Regions from separate parts of the Homo sapiens genome. Here regions 1 and 2 are each linked to region 3. The links are contacts of gene promoters, found by promoter capture Hi-C in human tissues and cell types (Jung and others, 2019). All regions are on one chromosome and are shown on one strand. Each heading gives the region's core, a stretch centred on a gene start or on the middle of the fragment in contact. The rest is flanking DNA. Distances are from core to core; before and after follow the strand shown. Region 1 overlaps ELMO1 (engulfment and cell motility 1). Region 2 overlaps ANLN (anillin, actin binding protein). Region 3 holds the start of AOAH (acyloxyacyl hydrolase).

Region 1 (2,700 bases), core at 161-2,660, 430 kb before region 3:
ATATGTGTCTTTGTCTTTGCACATGAGATGGGTCTCCTGAATACAGCATACCAATAGGTCTTGACTCTTTATCCAGTTTGCCAGTCTGTGTCTTTTAATTAGGGCGTTTAGCCCACTTACATTTAAGTAATTGGTGTTACTTATGTGTGAATTTGATACTGTCATTATGATGCTAGCTGGTTATTTCGCCCATTAATTGATGCAGTTTCTTCCTAGCATCAGTGGTCTTTACAATTTGGCATGTTTTAGCAGTGGCTCATATCAGTTGTTCCTATCCATGTTTAGTGCTTCCTTTAGGAGCTCTTGTAAGGCAGGCCTGGTGGTGACAAAATCTCTCAGCATTTGCTTGTCTGTAAAGGATTTTATTTCTCCTTCACTTATGAAGCTTAGTTTGTCTGGATATGAAATTCTGGGTTGAAAATTCTTTAAGAATGTTGAATATTGGCCCCTACTCTCTTCTGGCTTGTAGGGTTTCTGCAGAAAGATCCGCTGTTAGTCTGATGGGCTTCCCTTTGTGGGTAACTTGACCTTTCTCTCTGGCTGCCCTTAACATTTTTTCCTTCCTTTCAACCTTGGTAAATCTGACAATTATGTGTCTTGGGGTTGCTCTTCTCAAGGAGTATCTTTGTGGTATTCTGTGTATTTCCTGAATTTGAATGTTGGCCTGCCTTGCTAGATTGGGGAAGCCCTCCTGGGTAATATCCTGCAGAGTGTTTTCCAACTTGGTTCCATTCTCCCCGTCATTTGCAGGTGCACTAGTCAAATGTAGATTTGGTCTTTCACATAGTCCCGTATTTCTTAGAGGCTTTGTTAGTTTCTTTTCACTCTTTTCTCTGATCTTGTCTTCTCGCTCTTTTTCATTAATTTGATCTTCAATCACTGATATCCTTTCTTGCGCTTGATCAAATCGGCTATTGAAGCTTGTGTATGCTTCACGCAGTTCTCGTACTGTGGTTTTCAGCTCCATCAGGTCATTTAAGCTCTTCTCTACACTGGTTGTTCTAGTTAGCTATTCATCTAACCTTTTTTCAGGGTTTTTAGCTTCCTTGTGGTGGATTAGAACATGCTCCTTTAGCTCGGAGAAGTTTGTTATTACCGACCTTCTGAAGCCTACTTCTGTCAGCTCGTCAAGCTCATTCTCCATGCAGTTTTGTTCCCTTGCTGGAGAGGAGCTGCGATCCTTTGGAGGAGAAGAGGTGCTCTGGTTTTTGGAATTTTCAGCCTTTCTGTTCTGGTTTCTCCCCATCTTTGTGGTTTTATCTAACTTTGGTCTTTGACGTTGGTGACCTACAGATGAGGTTTTGGTGTGGATGTCCTTTTTTGTTGATGTTGATGCTATTCCTTTCTGTTTGTTAGTTTTCCTTCTAACAGACAGGCCCCTCAGCTTCAGGTCTGTTGCGGTTTGCTGGAGGTCCACTCCAGACCCTTTTTGCCTGGGTAACACCCCTGGAGGCTGTAGAACAGCAAATATTGCTGCCTGATCCTTCCTCTGGAAGCTTTGTCCCAGAGGGGCACCCACCTGTATGAGGTGTCTGTCTGCTCCTACTGGGAGGTGTCTTCTAGTCAGGCTACTCGGGGGTCAGGGACCTGCTTGAGGAGGCAGTCTGTTCATTATCGGATCTTGAACCCTGTGCTGGGAGAACCACTGCTCTCTTCAGAGCTGTCTGGTAGAGATGTTTAAGTCTGCAGAAGATGTCTGCTGCCTTTTGTTCAGATACGCCCTGCCTCCAGAGGTGGAATCTAGAGAGGCAGTAGGCCTTGCTGAGCTGTGGTGGGCTCTGCCCAGTTTGAGCTTCCCTGCTGCTTTGTTTACACTGTGAACATAGAACCGCCTACTCAAGCCTCAGCAGTGGCAGACACCCCTCCCCCTGCCAGGCTCCAGCATCCCAGGTTGATCTTAGATTGCTGTGCTAGCATCCCAAGGATCTGTGGGCGTGGGACCAGCCAAGCCAGGCACAGGAGGGAATCTCCTGGTCTGCCGATTGTGAAGACTGTGGGAAAAGCACGGTATTTTGGCAGGAGTGTACCGTTCCTCCAGGTAGAGTCACTCATAGCTTCCCTTGGCTAGGAAAGGGAAATCCCTGGACCCCTTGTGCTTCCCGGGTGAGGTGATGCCCCACCCTGCTTTGGCTCGCCCTCCATAGGCTGCATCCACTATTCAACCAGTCCCAGTGAGATGAACCAGGTACCTCAGTTGGAAATGTAGAAATCACCCGTCTGCTGCGTCAATATCACTGGGAGCTGTAGACCGGAGCTGTTTCTATTTGGCCATCTTGGAAGTGACCCGTAAGTCTATTCTTAAAGTCATTTTTCTGTGAGATATAATTCCCGAAGTGCCTACTTGTTGGAGGAGGTTGAGGTTAGTATAATTACTATCAAAAAATACACTTTCAGAAATTGGTTCCAGCTTTTCCTGCCCCTCACTCCTTCTCTGAGCAGCTTGATGGATCCTTCCCCACGTGTGTCCCTTATAGGTGTCCGCTCCGGCAGATACCCCTTGGAGACATATGCAGAGATAACTACCATTTGTTTGGATTTTGCTCCAACACAACCAGCTTATACACATTATACAAAAACTTGCTTTTTTCATTTCTCAGTTCATCATGAACATGCTCACATCTAAGTAGATTGATAATCTGGTGCTTTCTAATATATTTACATAGAAGTTTATATCGCAAATTCTGTTCCTTTCATTTTCTT
Region 2 (2,700 bases), core at 90-2,589, 290 kb after region 3:
TTCAGATGGAATTCTCAATCTACAAGAAGGAAGAACACCAGAAATGGTAAATATAAGGACCAGTTTATAAAAATATAAAAGTTTCTTTTAAAAATTGATTCAAGAGGCTGGGCACAGTAGTTCACAACTGTAACCCCAGCATTTTGGGAGGCAAGGCAGGTGGATGGCTTGAGCCCAGGAGTTCACGGCCAGCCTGGAAAACATAGCAAGACCCCATCTCTTAAAAAAGAAAAAAACTGATTAAAGAAAAAGTAACAACAGTGCATTGTGTGGTTTATAACAAAGAAGTAAAATATACTGGGATGGGAAAATGAACTATACTGTTGTGAGGTTCATATTGTAAGTTACATGAAGCAGTGTAACAGTATTTCAAAATAGACTTTAATAAGGTAAGGATGCATACATTATTTCCTACCAACGCCTTAAAAAACAAAAACAAAAACAGGTAAGTATAGCTAAAAAATCCAAAAGAGGAGATTAAAAAGGATTACCAAAATACTCAATTAATCCAGAAGAAGGCAGGAAAGGGAAAACAAAGCAGTAAAGAACAGACGAAACAAATAGAAAACAAATAACAAAATGGTAGACTACGAGTTGGCAAACGTTTTCTATAACTTACACAGACTGTACATGGCACCATTCAGTCAGGAGAAATGTAAACAAATATAAAGATGCATTTTTTGTGAAATACATTTTGATCTTATATTGAAAATACAGTTTTTATGTGAGTGCAGGATTGCTATAAGAAAGACACACCTATAGACTCTAATATAGGATTAAAGGAAGGTGAAGGATCTTCAACTTGAATATTTAATGCCAGCAAAGGATGGTTTGATAATTTTAGAAAGAGGCTTTAAAAATGTCAAGATACAACAGAAGAAGCAGCTTCTACCAAATGAGACAGGAGATGAGTTCCCAGACACCATTAAGAAAATCAGTGAAGAAAAAGGATATCTGCCTGAACAAGTTTGTTTTTTGTTATTGTTTTCCAAAACAAGGTCTCACTCTGTCACTCAGGCTGAAGTGCAGTGGCGTGATCATAGCTCACTGCAGCCTTGAACTTCTGAACTTCTGGGCTCAAGCAATTCCCCCATCTCAGCCTTCTGAATAGCTAGGGCTACAGGTGTGTACCACCACACCCAGCTAATATTTTTTTATTCTTTGATGAAAAAAAACTGTTTTCATCATCTATGTTGCTCAGGCTGGTATTGAACTTCTGGCTTTAAACGATCCTCCCACTTTGGCCTCCCAAAGTGTTGGGATTGTAGGTATGAGCTACAGTGCCCAACCTGAACAAATTTTTAATTCAGATAAAAGTGCCCTATTCTGGGGGGGAAAAAAGAAAGCCACAAGGGACATTTATTAGCAAGGAAGTGAGAACCAGAATTTAAGGCAGAAGGGATAGGCTAACTCCTGTTTTGTGTAAAGGTAAGTGGGTTTATGATCAGAACTGCCCTTATCTATAAAGCTGCTAACACCCAAGCCTTGAAGGGAAAAGATAAACGCCAACTGCTAGTCTTTTGGTTATACAAGGCCTGGATTGGTTCCATCAATGATTTGTCCCTGAAATCAAGAATAAAATGGTAATATATATATATATATTATATATATATATATATATACACACACACACACACACACACACACACACACACACAAACACACACATATATACACACATATATATATGATAGATAGATAGATAGACAGATATCTAAAGTAACATTGACTTCTGAGTCAAGATAGAAAGGAAGATGGAAGTGTCTGTCATTTCTATTGCCCAGGGAAAAAGAATGGCATCCCAACTGGATTAATCTTAGTTAAGTCTAAATTTGAGTTTTTAGTATAATTAGTTTCCAATGATTTGACCCTCTAACATAGCAAAGATAACTTAAAGGGGGAATTCTAAGACAAAAAGTATAAATTTCAGTAGACTAATTTCATGAGATGAACCTCCAACTGCCCAAATTTGAAACCGATCCACAATGCAGAACCAAAACATCATATGCCTCATCATCCTATTTTGTAAAAATTCCCTTTTTGCTTTTCCTTACAGTGAGTTTTAAGTTCCTTAGGCTCTTTCCTCTCAATGGTATTTAACAGAATTCCATTGTTTAGCACAGAGCATGCTACTGATAACAAAAATCAGAACAATGAGAAGAAAATGTGCCCTCTTACTCTGTAGCTGAGGAAAAGTAGACAATATTTTTGGTTAGAAGCTTGTCCTGATAAAGAAGTAAATTGAAAATATTCACAAAAACGTCAAGTTTACTACCCCTCCCCCTAGTTGAGTGTGGAGGGAGACTTGTGTGAAAATGTATGATCCTATTCTGTTTTGTGTTTAACAAAGGAGTCTTTTAAGACATCCACACTTCAAAGATTATGTTAAGAGCTGTAAAATATAACCTACAACCAGGGAGACTGTGTAATGTGTTATATGCTGGGATATTTTTGAGGGTGAAAGGGGCACCATTAATAATTACACAAGGCCAACAGGTATAAACTGGATAGTTCAGGGCATACCAGAATGCCTAACCATTTTCTTCAATCCCAAAACTGTATAATCCTAATTGGTTGTTTTACTTCAAAATTGTTTGCTCTAATAATATTTAAATTGACATTTCTATTTCCTAAAAGGTATAAATACCTATGAGGTTCCTTTAAGTCAGAAGAGGAACTTTGGGACATCCTTCTCCCTTT
Region 3 (2,700 bases), core at 201-2,700:
GAAGATCACTTGAACCCAGGAGGTCAACACTGCAGTGAGCTGTGATCACACCACTGCACTCCAGCCTGGATGAAAAAGCAAGGCCCTGTCTCAAAAAACAAACAAACAACAACAACAACAACAAAAACAAGACACTGAAGGGGGGAAAGTTACATCACTGGTCTAATATATTACTCAGAATAAACAGTAGACATGAGACGTAAGCATGAGCCTTTCTGTCTTCACAATCTGAGTTCCTAATCAATCAGTCCTTTATTTAGCCTCCCTTGGAAGTCTCTGGAACTTCTCTAGGCCTCACCCCTGTGGTGGTCCTAGTGACCCCAGAGCTCCCCTTAGTCACAGAGTGAAGAACTGAAGCAGCAGCACCTTAGAGTCAGAGGAAGTCACAGGCCCATGGACGCCTAACGATATCCTCAGTATTGGGCTGGAAGTGTAATTAGGGAAACACTCTGACTTGTGCTATCTCTGCAGCAGGTTTGGGAATTGTAGCCCCATCGGTGCTTGTAAGACTAATGACTGCACAAGAAATCTTCCAACCATAAAAACTGGTATTTCCTACATCCTGGAAAGGATGCTACTCTAAAACTTTGCCTGCTACTCCAAATGCTATTTTTTTTAATTGCTAACAATTTAGATAGCTTCTATAATATTTCAAAATTTGTAATAAGCTCCCTCAGAGCCTAAGCAGAGAGAAACAGAATCTCATGACCTCCTACACTTACCTAGACTGTGGTACTTTGGCCCTGTCCTCTTATCTTGACTGAGAATGGCATATGATTTTGTTTTATCTTATTTTAGAGAGAAACATTTAGATTATATGTCTTTTATCTATGATCTGGTTCCGATTTTTTTTTTCCCTCAGAAAGACAGTGTTCAGTTCTATTCTTCAGAGCAGAAAATCAGTCTCTTAACAAATCATCCACAAAATGCACTTCGAAATTCTGGAGAAAAAAAAGATGCATTGTGCACAGCCTAGCAACTGTGAATTGATTAATTCTAACCCATGTTTTTTCTCATTAGGTCTAAAATCCCACCATGCTAACTGCCCATTATTTTCTGTACTGTTTATTTTCTGCACACCAAATAAAAGGCCTTGACCCTTCAAGGAATAACCCAATTTCTCCAGAGGAAAGATATTATTTGACCAGAATATCCTTTTACAACAAAATAAGGATCACAACCTTACCATATAAAGCTGTTGAAAACAAGACTAAGTAAGTTCTGAATGTAACCAATTAGAATTTCTACAATATGTGGGTGCTGCTGATCAAATTGTTAAAGGGTTGTGTGCTTGTGGATTAGTTTTTTTTTTCTTTTTTCTTCTCAGTTTTGGCTTTAGTATCGTTTTGTTTTGTTTTGCAAGAATGAAAGGGGAAGGGCCTCCTAACCAACCCAACAGATCAGTTCCGGCAAGCCTCGAGGCTCACGGGGTTTATGCACACTAACTTCACTGAGCCAGGGAGCACGGAAGTTGTGCCACTGTGCAACTTGGGTTTTCTTTATCCTGCAGTCTTTACCTCAGCAGAACCGCACACCACAGACTCCCTCCAGCTCTTTGTGTGTGGCTCTCTCAGGGTCCAACAAGAGCAAGCTGTGGGTCTGTGAGTGTTTATGTGTGCTTTTATTCACTTCACACTTATTGAAAAGTGTGTATGTGAGAGGGTGGGGTGTGTGTGTCAAAGAGAGTGAGGAAGAGAAGGAGAGAGAGATCAATTGATTCTGCAGCCTCAGCTCCAGCATCCCTCAGTTGGGAGCTTCCAAAGCCGGGTGATCACTTGGGGTGCATAGCTCGGAGATGCAGTCCCCCTGGAAAATCCTTACGGTGGCGCCTCTATTCTTGCTCCTGTCTCTTCAGTCCTCGGCCTCTCCAGCCAACGATGACCAGTCCAGGCCCAGCCTCTCGAATGGGCACACCTGTGTAGGTATGCAAATAAATATTTTTGTATTTTCTATGTAGACATAACAATGGGATCCAGTACTTTGCTTGCGTAATAAATCACATATTTTATTAAATCAAGAATTGTAAGATTCCAGGTAAGGCACCAGTAACCTCACTGACACAGAGAAATGTGGAGTCTAAGAGTAGACATTGACACTACATACATCTATGTGAATAAAAAGCATACTAGTTTAAATTGGGCATAAAACTCTTCCACCTCATTGGCGATTGGAATTTTTTCTTCTTGTATAGGTAACTATTATTTCAGGCTATTTTAGTCTGAAATTTTTACTGCTTTTCATGGGCTTTGACCTCATATAAACACATCTGAGTTTGAATCACTGCCCTCCTCCTACCCTTCTCTCCCATTTCCTACTGGCTGTGGAAACCTGGAGCAATGTACTTAACCCTCTCCATGCTTCTGTGTCCTTATTGGTGAACTGAAGTGAGTGAGACCCATCTCATAGGGATACCATGGAAATTGTGACCATGCATGTAAATCTGTGGCATGTGCACACAGTAAGGACTCAACCATCTTAGCTTCCTTCCGTCTCTCAGAGAATCCAGATTTGGCGATCACCTGGAGACGCTGAGCGTTGATATGGCTTCTTGGCTCATCTGTTAATGAAGTGTTTTATTTCCAAGAGGTTTTTTTTGTTTGTTTTTTTTGGATGAGAGCAGGAAGTAAGGTAAGATCTTTGATATTCACATTGTAGCTCTCATAACATGGGAATTCTCATAATAGTGGTGGCATTTAGATG

The links. Contacts are between HindIII fragments. The study calls those that stand out against the background at their distance.
Region 1: a contact is called between a fragment that was not itself captured here and the fragment with the promoter of AOAH in region 3, in 2 of the 25 tissues and cell types used here (H1 embryonic stem cells and bladder).
Region 2: a contact is called between a fragment that was not itself captured here and the fragment with the promoter of AOAH in region 3, in 2 of the 25 tissues and cell types used here (H1 embryonic stem cells and small bowel).

The regions. Positions count from the first base shown.
Region 1 is chr7:37,152,746-37,155,445 of GRCh38, reverse strand. The region is part of intron 13 of ELMO1 (engulfment and cell motility 1); the gene reads left to right. Among named protein-coding and RNA genes, the nearest start is that of ELMO1-AS1, 160 kb to the right of the region's middle. RefSeq lists an enhancer at 1,149-1,768. The HindIII fragment of the contact is 3,947 bases long and covers 1-2,700 here.
Region 2 is chr7:36,430,520-36,433,219 of GRCh38, reverse strand. The region is part of intron 20 of ANLN (anillin, actin binding protein); the gene reads right to left. Among named protein-coding and RNA genes, the nearest start is that of ANLN, 42 kb to the right of the region's middle. The HindIII fragment of the contact is 4,965 bases long and covers 1-2,700 here.
Region 3 is chr7:36,723,244-36,725,943 of GRCh38, reverse strand. AOAH (acyloxyacyl hydrolase) reads left to right here and starts at 1,450. Exons shown (of 21, transcript NM_001637.4): 1 at 1,450-1,922. The coding sequence starts at 1,796. The HindIII fragment of the contact is 16,117 bases long and covers 1-2,700 here.